Linked DNA regions of Homo sapiens: regions 2 and 3 are each linked to region 1. Evidence: promoter capture Hi-C in human tissues and cell types (Jung and others, 2019). All regions are on one chromosome and are shown on one strand. The core of a region is centred on a gene start or on the middle of the fragment in contact, and the rest is flanking DNA. Distances in the headings are between cores, read along the strand shown. Region 1 holds the start of HSPA12B (heat shock protein family A (Hsp70) member 12B). Region 2 has its middle 62 kb from the start of SMOX. Region 3 overlaps SMOX (spermine oxidase).

Region 1 (4,538 bases), core at 762-3,261:
CCCCATGAGTCTTCACCCCTGCTCAGAGCCTGCTGCCGTGGCCCTCAGAGACGAGCCCATCTTTGGAGCTGGAGTTGGGGACAGGGAAACCAGGTGGAAGGGAAAAAGAAAAAAGGGGCAGGCATGAGTGTGAGGGGCCAGACCCTGCAGACCCCAGGACATGCACAGCAGACACACACTCCAATCCCTCCTGGCTCTGCTCAGCCTCAAACGAGGTGCAGGCCTGCAGGCCCCAACCAAGGACCCCTGTTACACACAGACACAAAGACACAAGATGCAGCAACACACACACGTAATACAGAAACACAGTCACACACTAGCGCACACACAGACACAGTCAGACAATCCAAGAAACACACTCACACATGAACAGACATATAAGCAAAGTCTTACACATACAAAGACACACTTAAGCACAGACACAAACACACCAACAGATGCACAGACGGACACACATAGACGCACACTGGGAGGCGGCCTGTGGAGACTGCTGATTGGATACCATGTTGGCTTGGTATCCAGAATTGTTGGTGCAGCGCACTCACCATGCCTGACCTCATTAAGGAGGCCCTCTGGGGCAGTGGCTCTGAGAAGAAAGGCAGCAAGCCTAGGGAGGTGACACTGTAGCTGGGGAGCATTTTGGCTGGGCAGAGAGGAGGAAGGAGAGCATTTCAGGGAGGGAAAATAGCCCTTGCAAAGGTTTGGAGTGGAAGAGCAAAAGGGATGTCCCAAGAACTGTGCCTCATTTGATGGGGCTGTGGGGCCCTTCTCTGACGGGCAGCCTTCCCAGGCACAAAGGGAGGTGGACTGAGAAGCATCTGGAACTTCTGTGGGGGCACATGGGGCAGAGGGGAAGGGGAACAGGCAGAACGAGTCAGCTGCCTTTGAAAGCTCCACGAGGGACCTAGCAGAAATTCATTCATTCATCCGTTCATTCATTTATTTATGACAGGTTCTCTCTCTGTCACCCAAGCTGGAGTGCGGTGGTGTGATCACACTTACTGCAGCCTCAAACTCTTGGGCTCAAGCAATCCTCCACCCCAGCCTCCTGAGTACCTAGGACTACAGACGTGAGCTACTACACCTGGCTAATTTTTAAAACTTTTTAGAGACAGGGTCTCCCTTTGTTGCCCAGGCTGGTCTTTGTTGCCCAGCCAGCTTCAAGCCATCCTCCCACCTCAGACTCCCAAAGCGCTGGATTACAGGCATGAGCCACGGGTTCCCAGCCCAGAAAGAGACCTTCACCCCACAAACCCCCTGTCTGGAGGCCAAGTCCCAGCATCCCCAGAAGGGCCCCGGTTAGGACAAGAAAAAGGCTGTGTGCCTCGGAGGAGAGGCTGGGTGCCCCCTGGTGCGGAGTGGTCCCCTTGCCGGGCATGGGGCCTCAGTCTGTGAGACTCCGCGCCTCCGTCGTCTGAACTTGAGCAAAGACAGAGCTAGGCCTAGCCTGGGGACCCGAGGGCCTGCCCTCATCCGCAATTCTGCCTCTTTTCTGGCCACTGAGGACCGGGCTAGGGAAGCTGTAGGGGCAGTAGGGGTGGGAGGAGAGAGGGTTCCGGGTCAAGGGACTGGAGGGGTCTGGGGCAGGGAAGTGGAGGGGTCTAGGGCGGGCCCTTCCCCCTCCGCTGTTGGGCCCTCGCTGAAGGGGCCGAGGCTGAGCCCCAAGGTGGGCCTGTGGGGGCGGGGCGGGGGAGCCCCTCAGCAGCTGGACCGCAGGAGGCCGACCAGGGTCTGGAACTCCTCTTCCCCTCCCTCCGCCGCCCCCTCTCCCTTCTCCCACCCCCTGGGCTGCTAGGGGAGCGGGGGAGGCGCAGGAGGGGCTCAGGGAGGGGCCCTGGACGCGGGACCAGGCTGGGCCCCTCGGCGGAGGCCCGCGCAGGCAGGCCCCGCCCCGGCCTCGCACATCTGGGCCGGGAGCGCGGGCCGACCCGGCGGCGCAGGCGGCGCGGCCATCCGGCCTGGGGGAGGGGGCGGCGGGCGGGGTGGGCGGCGCGAGGAGGCGGGAGGCCTCAGGGCCGGGCGCACGTCGAGGGCTGCGGCCGCCGCAGCGGGCACGGCCAACGAGCTGCGGGCCCGGGATCGCGGCGGCTGGACGGGGCTGGAGCTGTCGGGAGGGCGGAGGTGAGTTCTGGGGCGGGGGCTGCCGGGCGCCCCGAGTGGAGAAAGGCGAGGAGGTTTGCCGTCCCGGGCTGTCGGCTGAGACCCCACCAAAAACCTCCAGACTTTGTCTGGTGGGGACAGATCTGCAAGCCCCTCTCTGCAGCGTGGCTGCGGGCTCGGGAAGGCACTTGGGGCAGCGACCTTGGTCTCCCACCTGGGCTTCGGGGGACCACCTCCCCTGTCCCTCGCACAGCTGCTCAGAGGCTTAGGCTGGAGAAACTCCTGTGTCTTAGGGGCTGGCAGGACTGGTGTGGGCTGGGGCCTGCTCCAGGGAGCCAAACTGAGGGACCCGGTGCCTAGGTCTGAGGTGGAAACCTGGGAGTTGAGTGTATGTGTGTGTGTTGGGGGGTGCCTCAGGGGTCCCAGGCCCTGTGGTCCCGAAGCGCAACAGAGTACTGAGTGGCCCAGGTGCCAGGGTCTGAGGCTGGGACCTGGTCTTCCGGGCCAGCTTGAGGTCCAGGTGGGGTGGGGTCCAGGTTCCCGCTAGGGCAGTGGAGCCTATCTGTGAGGTTAGCGTGTGTTGATGAGAGAGACTGGAAGGGAGTGATCACGAAACTAGGGACCCTCCGGAGAGCAGACGCAGCGCAGGAATCCCAGGCCAGAGGGGTAATGGGGGGCTGTGGGCAGAGCATGGGAGGGGCTCTGTTGTTTGTGAACTGGCTGCTCCCATGATGAGGACCCAAGGGGGTGCGGCAGGATGTATGGAAAGCAAAGATGAGGACAGGGAGGGGCCATGGGAGGCCATTTCTGTCACTCCCTGCCCCAGCGCAGGATGGGGCAGCCACCTCACTCAGCCACACATGGTCCCATCTTCTTAAGGGCTCCTCTCCAGAACAGAGTGGGGCAGCCCTTTGGGTGCCGTTTCTGATCTGTGCTTTGGGCCCTGGTTGGCCCAGTCTGTGGCTTGGAAGAAACGCCTGTGGCCTCACTTAGCCCGCTGACGGAGTCCTGTTCCATTACAGGGCTGGCTGGGTGCTGAGCAGAGAGCAGCAGGCGGAAGAGGCAGGGTCCTAGTGAGGAGGGGAGCTGGAATGACCTGGGTGGGCTCTTTGTCTACACAGGCATCGTGTGGAGCCCTGAAACCCAGAACACTGCATTCCCATAGTGCTCCTGGGGACATGAGCGCCCAGCTGAAACACCCCACACAGGAAGAGATCCTCCGAGGATTCTGTCAGGCAAAGGGTTGGGCCCCTGCAAGGTGGCTCACGCCTGTAATCCCAGCACTTTGGGAGGATGAAGTGGGAGGATCGCTTGAGGCCAGGTGGTCGAGGCTGCAGTGAGCCGTGATCGTGCCACTGCACTCCAGCCTAGGCAACAGAGCAAGACCCTGTCTCAAAAAAAGGAGCGGGAGTGGGGGCAGGGTTCGTCCTAGGCTATTGTAAGACCAGGGGATACTCTGGGATGGGAGTCTCTGGTTGTGAGTTCCTGCTGGGCCACACCCTATCCTGGTCCCCAGTGACTAATCGGCCCTGCCTATTGGGTAGAAGTCAGGGCCAGGGGTCAGGGTGAAGCTGATGACTAGAGGTCAATATGAAGCCAAGAGTTAGGGGTCAGTCCATGGGCAGGGTTAGGGATCAGGCTGGGGCCAGAGTTTGGCATGTGCTTGTAGCCAGGAAATGGAGTTCCTTTCTGTGTAAATCAAACTGTCCCACTCAATTACTCTCAAACCCATAGGCACCACCAGTCTGAAATTAGTAGGCCCCTGAAGCGGGGCTCAGCCTCCCCTCATTTTCAGCTGTGGACTCTGCCCAGACCTAGCTTTCGGGAGCTGGGCTTGTCCCGTGTTCTGTGGTCAGCACTCTCCTTAAGTGTCCCTGGGTGTGTGTGCTCGCTTGGCAGTCAGCCACCTCTTGGCTTACCTCCACCTCTCGGGGAATCCGTGGGATCCTCCTTCTTTAACACAATTTTTTTTTTTTTTTTTTTGGAGACAGGGTCTCACTCTGTCACCCAGGCTGGAGTGCAGTGGTGTGATCATGACTTACTGCAGCCTCAACCTTCCGGGCTCAAGCAATTCTCCCACCTCAGCGTCCAAAGTGGCTGGGACTCTAGGCATGCACTACCACGCTGGGCTAATATTTGTATTTTTCGTAGAGATGGGGTTTTGCTGTTGCCCAGGCTGGTCTCGAACTCCTGAGCTCAAGCAATCCACCCACTTTGACCTCCCAAAGTGCTAGAATTACAGGCATGAGCCACCACACCCAGCCCTTAACACAGATTGATTTAGTTCCTACCTCCTTCCTTAAAGAACTCATGATGACTAGAATGCGATTCTCAGTAAGACCAAAATATCTAACAAGAAAATTCAGAATCTGCATCATGAAGGGAAAGAACACTGCTCAAACCTGCCCAACTCCCTGCTTTTATCAATACCTTGCATA
Region 2 (4,652 bases), core at 1,451-3,950, 350 kb after region 1:
ATTTCTGCTCTGTGAAAGCCCTGTAGTCGAAAGGCAGTACATTGCAAATTTCAAAGAATAAGGCACTATCCTCTACTTTTGAGAGAAAGAAATGGAAGTCACACGCCAAAAAGTTGAAGTCTCTCCTAGACTCAGATGTCCTCAGTCTTCATCACTCTCTCTGGGTCTGATGGTCAGGAGGCCTAATGCTCAAGCTGTAAGGCGAGGCTCCTTAGAACCACTTGAGTCACCTGTCCGAAGCTGAATTGCATGATGGCTTCATTCAGAGCCACCCAAATCATTCTGGCCAATCACGGGCAACTGTGGATGGTTCAATGGCACCTTCCTTTCAGAGAATAGAAGTCCCAGGAGGGCAGGGGTCTTTGTCTGATTTGTTCACTGAAGAATCCCAGGTGTCTAATAGGCTGCTGGTATATAGTAGATGCTAAATAAATACTGGTTAAATAAATGAAGGATTGCAATGGGTTTGGGGGAAGTCTGAGGCCAGGGTTAGGGGTCACACCAAGGTCAGGTTTTTAAAGTATAGGATCCCATTTTTGGTACTGAAACGTGGTTGGGGTATTTAGGGGTCTGCCTATTGGGACAAAGGTTTCTTGGAGGACATCGCACACCTCTCAACCTGAGGACTCCTTATGGGCTCAGGGGAGCAGCTACTGGCTGAGATTTTTAAAGCAGGGTCTCAGTCAGTGAAAGCCTGGCTTGCTTTCCCTGAAGAGAGCTATGCGCGTGCCTGGCCATGGGGCTCACAGCTGCCCCCTGGTGGTCAGCCACAGCCCCCTGCCAACCCTTGGGCGTGGTATTTTTCCAGCCTTAAGTCAGGCAGCAACGGCACATCCTAACGCAGGGTCCGTCTGGTTCCCGGGCCCCAGGTGGCGAGGGAACAGGAATGAGGGCTCTCCGGCACTCTCCGCTTTGCCCTTGGCCTCCTTTTTTCATCAGGGAAGACTCAGGGGAGGGCCTGCGCTGTGCCTCTCTTCAGCATCTGTGAAGATTCTGCCAGCTCCCCAGCCCCGTGCTCTCCGAGGGCATTTTTGTGCACGCAGGGCAGATTCCGGATTCCAAGAACATCAGTCATGGAATGACCTCTCTCCGGCCCCTTGGTGTGACCTCACTGTCTTGCCTCCTCCACCTGCACGTTCTTTGCCAGCCTGTAGGTCCTATCGTGGGGACTCCTCCCTGACCTCTGCCAATTTGAAGTGGGAACTCAGATGAGTGCCTCTGACTTTTTTTTTTTTTTTTTTTGAGACGGAGTCTCGCTCTGTCGCCCAGGCTGGAGTGCAGTGGCGCGATCTCGGCTCACTGCAAGCTCCGCCTCCTGGGTTCACGCCATTCTCCTGCCTCAGTCTCCCGAGTAGCTGGGACTACAGGCGCCCGCCACCACGCCCGGCTAATTTTTTTGTATTTTTAGTAGATACAGGGTTTCACCGTGTTAACCAGGATGGTTTTGATCTCCTGACCTCGTGATCCGCCCGCCTCGGCCTCCCAAAGTGCTGGGATTACAGGCGTGAGCCACCGCGCCCGACCGAGTGCCTCTGACTCTCACAAGGGCTCGTGTCTTCAGTTCCAGGCAGGCCCTGGAAGGGCATGGGGCAACATCTGGGGCGCCCCCACGGCTGCCTCTCTCTCCCCCCACGGCCCTGTGCCCCTCAGCAAAGCTTCTTCAGAACAGCTCTTTGGACAGCAGCTCTCAGGGCATCTGTAGCTGGTGCCAGCCTACACCCCCCATGCAGCTATCATGGACAGCGAGGGCATAGGCTCTGGCCATAGGACCCCACAACCAGCACCACCATGTTCTGAGTTAATGGTGGGAATTTATCTCCCAGCATGATCTGACATGGTCTGACAGCAAGCCCATGACATTCTGCCTCCATGGTGTGGACACCTGAGGCAGATGGGTTGTATGTGGGTGGGGAGATAGCCCCTTTCATCGCAGGCAGGAGGAACATGCTTAGGGTACTACGCTGTAGGGTCAGGTCTTTATGCTTCTCATCATGCAGAGCAGGCTTAGGGGCTGTGTCTGCAGCCCCTCCCTGATTCCCAGGGATGAAGAGATGGGGTAGGCTCTCCGCAGCTCTGGGGAAGTTTTATTCCCTCTTCTCCCCCTCTCTCTGCACTTCCTTCCCTCTCTTGTGTTCCATCTTAGTCCATTTCTGCTGCTATAACTGAATACCACAGACTGGGTAAGTTATAAAGAAAATAATGTATTTGGCTCACGGTTCTGGAAGCTGGCAAGGCCAAGAGCATGACGCTGGTGTCTGACTGATGAAGACTTCATGCTGCTTTATCCCATGGTGGAAGATATCACATGGTGAGGAAGCACATGTGTGAGACAGAAAGAAAACTGGCCAAACTCATCCTTTTATCAGGAAACCACTCCTGGGATAACTAACCCATTTGACTGATAACGGCATTCACCAACCTTTTAAAGGCCCCACCTCTCAACCCTGCTACAATGGGAGTTAAATTCCAACATGAGTTTTGGAGGGGACATTCAAACCATAGCATGTCCCCACCTGATCCATGCGCATTCTTTGTAGACCAGTGGTCCCCAAACTTTTTGGCACCAGGGATTGGTTTTGAGGAAGACAATTTTTCCTCAGACGGGGTAGGGGGGAGGGGATGGTTTTGGGATGAAACTGTTCGACTTCAGATCATCAGGCATTAATCAGATTCTCATAAGGAGCGTGCAACCTAGATCCCTCACATGCGCAGTTTGCAGTAGGGTTCGTGCTTCTATGAGAACCTAATGCTGCTGCTGATCTGACAGGAGGCGGAGCTCAGGCGGTAATGCTCACTCACTTGCAGCTCACATCCTGCTGTGTGGCCCAGTTTCTAACAGGCCATGGATCAGTACTGCGGGAGCTGGAGACCCCTGCTGCAGAGGATCTGACTCTTTTTGGCCCTGGGAGGGAGTGGTTCACAAAAGAAAAAGAAAATTACAATAGTCCCCCACCTTATTGGCAATTTTGCATTCTGCGGTTTCAGTTAGATGCTGTCAATCACAGATTGAAAATATTGAATGGAAAAATTCCAGAAATAAATAATTCATGTTTTGGCCAGATGGGGTGGCTCACACCTGTAATCCCAGTACTTTGGTAGGCTGGGACGGGCAGATCACTTGAGGTCAGGAGTTTGAGACTAGCCTGGCCAACATTGTGAAACCCCTTCTCTACTAAAATACAAAAATTAGCTGGGCATGGTGGTGTGTGCCTGTAGTCCCAGCTACTTGGGAGGCTGAGGCAGGAGAATCGCTTGAACCTGGAAGGCAGAGGTTGCAGTGAGCCAAGATTGCACCCTTGCACTCCAGCCTGGGTGACAGAGTGAGACTCAGTCTCAAAAAAAAAAAAAAAAAGAAAAAGAAAAAGAAAAAGAAAACCAAAAAACAAAATGAGCAACTCCCATTTTAAATTGCCTGCCATGCTGAGTAGAGTGAATCATCCCTCTGTCCAGCACGTCCATGCTGCATATTCTTCCCGCTCATTAGTCACTTGGTAGCTGTCTTGGCTGTCAGATCAACTGCTGAGGTATCGCAGTGCTTATGTTCAGGTAACCCTTACTTCATTTAATAACGACCCCTGGATGCAAAAGTGGTGATGCTTAACATCATCACAACATAATTATTATTAACAATAATAACTGAGAATAAAATAGAACAGTTGTTATAATTGTTCTATTTTATTATCAGTTATTATTGTTAACCTCTTAACTGTGCTTAATTTATGCATTATACTTTATGGTGGATATGTACATATAGAAAAATCCATAGTATGTATAGGGTTTGGTACTATCTGCGGTTTCAGGCATCCACTGGGGGTCTTGAATGTATCCCCTGCAAATAAGGGGGGGGACTAGCGTTTCTGTCTTCACCAGGCCTAGATGTGTCTTGCCTGCCGAGGAAAGATGTATAGTTAAGATGTGACAATTATCTGTCAGTTGGTGGAGTTTCACCCACTTAGTTGGTCTTCTTACTGTATTTTGAGATATCTTTATTTACAGGAGGCAAAATAGAGGTCCTGGGTCAGTCCTCAGCCCTCCACCCCCAGCCTTTATGCCTAGGAGACTTTGAGTTGATGGGGAAAGATGGTTTCTGCCCTTGGGGGACCCACACAGGGTCCTTAGTATAGAGCCTGGCGCTCCACAGGGACCCGGTATTGAATATGGGATGGAGAGGAGCAAAGAGATCCTGCCAGGGAGGTTGTAGGAAGATCAATGGGTCACAGAAGCTACAGAAGGGCACACAGTAAGGCCGTGAGAGTGGGTAAAAAGGAGTGTGGGAGCTCTCACCTGCTCTGTGCTGGGATGTGGGTACTGGTCTCCTGGGAGTGAGCAGTTGGGCCCTCACCCAGTTGGAGGGCCCAACCACAACCACGGCAAATCCCAAAGGCCAGGAACAGGGACTAATGTGGGGTCCAGGGATAAAAGCAGATTTCTGAGATACAGAAAGCCCAGGGTCTGGCCTAAGGGGCAGCTGATATGCCCAAGAGCAAGTTCAAGGGCAGAGCAAGTTCGAGTGTACTGCAGACAGCCTTGGGACAGGGACATCCAATTTCATGGGCCAAGGAGAACAGTGGAAAGTCCAGGTAGTCAGGAGCCCTTGAAAGTCTAGAGGGTGGTGGGCTTGGTTGGGATGTGGATGGACATATATATATATG
Region 3 (4,615 bases), core at 1,123-3,622, 450 kb after region 1:
CTTGAGGAAGACGGATTCTGGGGGCGTCTGGGTCTGAGGAGGGCTACGCTGCTCCTACCCCTGCCCAACCCCGGCGGTCACCTGGCTTCTCCTTGGGTCTTCCCGCAGGTGGAGAGCTGTGAGAGCAGCTCACACAGCATGGACGAGGTGTCCCTGAGCGCCTTCGGGGAGTGGACCGAGATCCCCGGCGCTCACCACATCATCCCCTCGGGCTTCATGCGGGTTGTGGAGCTGCTGGCGGAGGGCATCCCTGCCCACGTCATCCAGCTAGGGAAACCTGTCCGCTGCATTCACTGGGACCAGGCCTCAGCCCGCCCCAGAGGCCCTGAGATTGAGCCCCGGGGTGAGGGCGACCACAATCACGACACTGGGGAGGGTGGCCAGGGTGGAGAGGAGCCCCGGGGGGGCAGGTGGGATGAGGATGAGCAGTGGTCGGTGGTGGTGGAGTGCGAGGACTGTGAGCTGATCCCGGCGGACCATGTGATTGTGACCGTGTCGCTAGGTGTGCTAAAGAGGCAGTACACCAGTTTCTTCCGGCCAGGCCTGCCCACAGAGAAGGTGGCTGCCATCCACCGCCTGGGCATTGGCACCACCGACAAGATCTTTCTGGAATTCGAGGAGCCCTTCTGGGGCCCTGAGTGCAACAGCCTACAGTTTGTGTGGGAGGACGAAGCAGAGAGCCACACCCTCACCTACCCACCTGAGCTCTGGTACCGCAAGATCTGCGGCTTTGATGTCCTCTACCCGCCTGAGCGCTACGGCCATGTGCTGAGCGGCTGGATCTGCGGGGAGGAGGCCCTCGTCATGGAGAAGTGTGATGACGAGGCAGTGGCCGAGATCTGCACGGAGATGCTGCGTCAGTTCACAGGTGCGCCACGTGCCCCACGACCCGCTTCCCCCACCCTGCTTCTTCCTCACCTGCCCTCCTCTGGTGGACCCATGGCAGCTCTCTCCTCCCCAGACCGTGAAGCTCGGATGCTGTGCCCCACGGGAGAGCCACTGCAGGGTGCCACATTCAGCCAAAGGCTCTTCAGTTGCTGACAGTTTAGAACTTGACACACTCAGAATTATGGGCGCTGTGTCTCTTCCCCCTTTCTAAAGGCTGATGGTAAAACACTCAGAGATCACCGCCCATTGTGCTCTGTTGCTAAGAGCTGGATTTGCCTTTTACTCTCTGAGTCTTTCAGCTCAACATTTTTCACCCACTATTCCAGGAGGACCTCACGAGAACCCCCGATATTAGGCGGGGAAACATGATTATGTGTCATGTGTTTTCAGATAGATAGGAAAAGTAAGGTGGAGCGTTTTGCCGGGGGTCACAGGAGGCGCTGAGTGGGTACACAGCTCGAGCCCCAGCCTCCCTCCTTCCTCTTCTATCCTCCGTGCCTACCCCTGGCAGTCTGGTCCTCCCGGAGCCCTGGAGGTGGGGTGGGGGGTTGTCCCTTTGGGGTCATCTTCCATATGCAGCCATTTCTTATCCTCCCTCCTCTTGGCTTTTCTGACTCTCCATCAGGGAACCCCAACATTCCAAAACCTCGGCGAATCTTGCGCTCGGCCTGGGGCAGCAACCCTTACTTCCGCGGCTCCTATTCATACACGCAGGTGGGCTCCAGCGGGGCGGATGTGGAGAAGCTGGCCAAGCCCCTGCCGTACACAGAGAGCTCAAAGACAGCGGTAAGCGGGGCGTTTGGGGTGAGGAGGGGAGTTGTGGGTGTATTTTGTATGTGTGTCCGGTCCAGGGTGAGGAGGGCTAGGGTAGTGTTCACTAAGGGGTGCTCAGGTGAGGCAGGGATGGAGTAGCTTCTGTAATGAGAGAGAACACAAGGAAAAAAGTGTGCACTTAATATCTGGAAGAAAAAATGGAATCAAATTGAAACTTAAAATGTTTTCTTGATGTTATGAAAACTGAGCTATTCCATGCTGTGCTGGCCAATACGGTAGCTATCAGCCACTTTCAATTTAAATTAATTTATTAAAAATTTAAATTAATACAGTATTTTTTTTTTCTTTTTTGAGACAGGGTCTTGCTCTGTCTACACTTCAGGCTGGGGTATAGTGGTGTGATCACAGCTCACTGCAGCCTTGACCTCCTGGGCTCAAGTGATCCTCCCACCTCAGCCTCCCAACTAGCTGGGACCACAGGCATGCCGGCACGCCACCATGTCCAGCTAATTTTTGTACTTTTTTTTTTTTTTTGGTAGAGATGGGGTTTCATCATACTGCTAGGCTGGTCTTGAACTCTTGGGCTCAAGCTGTCCTCCCGCCTCAACCTCCTGAAGTGCTAGGATTATAGGAATGAGCCACCACACTTGGCCAATACAGTAAAGTTTTTGTTCCTTGGTTGCACTAGTCACATTTCAAGTTCAACAGCCACATGTGGCTAGAGGTTACCATAGTAAAGTACATAGCGATAGGAATGTCCTATTGGACAGCACTGATTCAATGGAAATGTTTTCCCAATATATTTCAGAAAATAAAGTTTAGATTACTGATGCTCCACAATATGCCAACTGTACACTAAAAAAAAAAAATCTGAAATATATATTTATGCTCCCATAAAGTGGATTTTGAGTTTCCCCCATCAAGTAGACACACACAGTAAATGTTAAAACTCAACAGTTATATTTAAAACAATTATTTGGTATAATTGGTGAAGAAGAGTTCAGTCAACCAGCATCTACTATGCCTGCCCAACGGTGCTCAGATGGAGAGAGAAAAGGGCTGGTGTTTAAAGAGAGAGAGGTCCTCAGAAAGGCCCTTTCTGCTGCCACAGCCATCCTCCTAAAAAGCAAATCTTCTCTTTTCACTTGCATCAGTTAGGACTAGTGCATGTAGCAAAAAGCAAAGCAAAGCAAACACAACTGTGACTTAAACAAGGAAAATCAAAAGGAAATCTGGAGGCAGGCAGCAGGATCCCGTATCATTAGCACCTGGCTCTCATCTTCAAGACCATCTTGTGGTCCAAGAGGGCTGCAGAAGCTCCAGTTCTCACATCTGCATCTTAGGCTAGAAGGAAGAGGAAAGGCAGATGGCAAGAAGGGAACCCTTGGAGCTGAGTCAGCTGTGTCTCTAAGCAACAGTGCACTTTAATGCTTATTGGCCAGAACATAGACACATGACTGCACCTAGCTGCTACAGAGGCTGGGCAGTATCATTTTTATTCTGGATGGCAATGGACCCAGTTAAAAATCAGGACTTTGTTATTGAGGAGAAAGAGGAGAATGGTTGGATGTGGGAGTGGTCCCAGCTACTTGGGAGGCTGAGGTGGGAGGATCACTTGAGCCCAGGAGGTCAAGGCTGACACAGTATACAACACCCCTTTCAGTGTAACAGCCTCTGTGGGCTCCTTGGTGGTGGGATTACAGCCTCACTACTCAGGGTAGGTAGATCAGTACCAGCCTCACCTGGGAGCTAGTTAGAAATGCAGATTCTCAGCCTGGCCAACATGGCGAAACCCTGTCTCTACTAAAAATACAAAATTAGCCAGGCATGGTGGTGCACACCTGTAGTTCTAGCTACTTGGGAGGCTGAGGCATGAGAATTGCTTGAAGCTGGGAGGCGGAGGTTGCAGTGAGTTGAGATCATGCCATTGCACTCCAGCCTGGGTGACAGAGCGAGACCCTGTCTCAAAACAAAAACCAAAAAACAACAACCCCTGGCGCCCTAAACACACACACACACAAATAAATAAATAAATAAAAAGAAATGCAGATTCTCAGCCTGGCCAACATGGCGAAACCCTGTCTCTACTAAAAATACAAAATTAGCCAGGCATGGTGGTGCACACCTGTAGTTCTAGCTACTTGGGAGGCTGAGGCATGAGAATTGCTTGAAGCTGGGAGGCGGAGGTTGCAGTGAGTTGAGATCATGCCATTGCACTCCAGCCTGGGTGACAGAGCGAGACCCTGTCTCAAAACAAAAACCAAAAAACAACAACCCCTGGCGCCCTAAACACACACACACACAAATAAATAAATAAATAAAAAGAAATGCAGACTCTCAGCCCACCCCAGACCTGCTGGATTAAAAACTGCATTCTGGCCAGGGATGCAGGCTCCTGCCCATAATCCCAGCACTATGGGAGGCCGAAGTGGGAGGATGGCTTGAGCTCAGGAGTTCAAGACCAGCCTGGGCAACAAAGTAAGACCTCCATCTCAACAAAAAATTTAAAAAAAAATTAGCCAGGTGTGGTGGTGTGTGCCTGTAGTCCCAACTACTTAGGAGGCTTAGATGGGAGGATTGCTTGAGCCCAGGAAGTTGAGGCTGCAGTGGAGCTGTGATCATGTTACTGCACTCCAACTGGGGCAATAGAGTGAGACACTGTCTCAAAAATAATAAATAAAAACTGCATTTTATCAGGATCCACAGCTGGTGCCTTGCACCTTGAATTTGAGAGGAACTAGGATAAAGTCCAAATGCAAACTTGGGGTGCAAGAACTTGTACCTTGCCTAGACCTCACCTAGACAGCCTGCTTTCTCAAGGCCGAGCCCTGGCTGTACCAAAATTCTCACTGTCCCCCGAGCAAGGCCTGCTTTGGTACATTTTTGCCCCCACCTTTCCCTCTGTCTGAAATGTCCTTTGCCTGTCCGTTCACTCAGCATCTTCCGAGAACCA

Evidence for each region. The method cuts DNA at HindIII sites, captures the fragments that hold promoters and counts their contacts. A contact is called where the count stands out against the background at its distance.
Region 2: a fragment that was not itself captured here is called in contact with the fragment with the promoter of HSPA12B in region 1 in 1 of the 25 tissues and cell types used here (lymphoblastoid cells).
Region 3: a contact is called between a fragment that was not itself captured here and the fragment with the promoter of HSPA12B in region 1, in 1 of the 25 tissues and cell types used here (spleen).

Annotation. Positions count from the first base shown.
Region 1 is chr20:3,730,674-3,735,211 of GRCh38, forward strand. HSPA12B (heat shock protein family A (Hsp70) member 12B) reads left to right here and starts at 2,012. Exons shown (of 13, transcript NM_052970.5): 1 at 2,012-2,121. RefSeq lists an enhancer at 2,074-2,653. The HindIII fragment of the contact is 12,948 bases long and covers 1-4,538 here.
Region 2 is chr20:4,084,671-4,089,322 of GRCh38, forward strand. No RefSeq gene overlaps it. Among named protein-coding and RNA genes, the nearest start is that of SMOX, 62 kb to the right of the region's middle. The HindIII fragment of the contact is 4,410 bases long and covers 496-4,652 here.
Region 3 is chr20:4,181,981-4,186,595 of GRCh38, forward strand. SMOX (spermine oxidase) reads left to right here. Exons shown (of 7, transcript NM_175839.3): 5 at 109-868; 6 at 1,514-1,674. Among named protein-coding and RNA genes, the nearest start is that of LINC01433, 8.8 kb to the right of the region's middle. The HindIII fragment of the contact is 6,680 bases long and covers 1-4,615 here.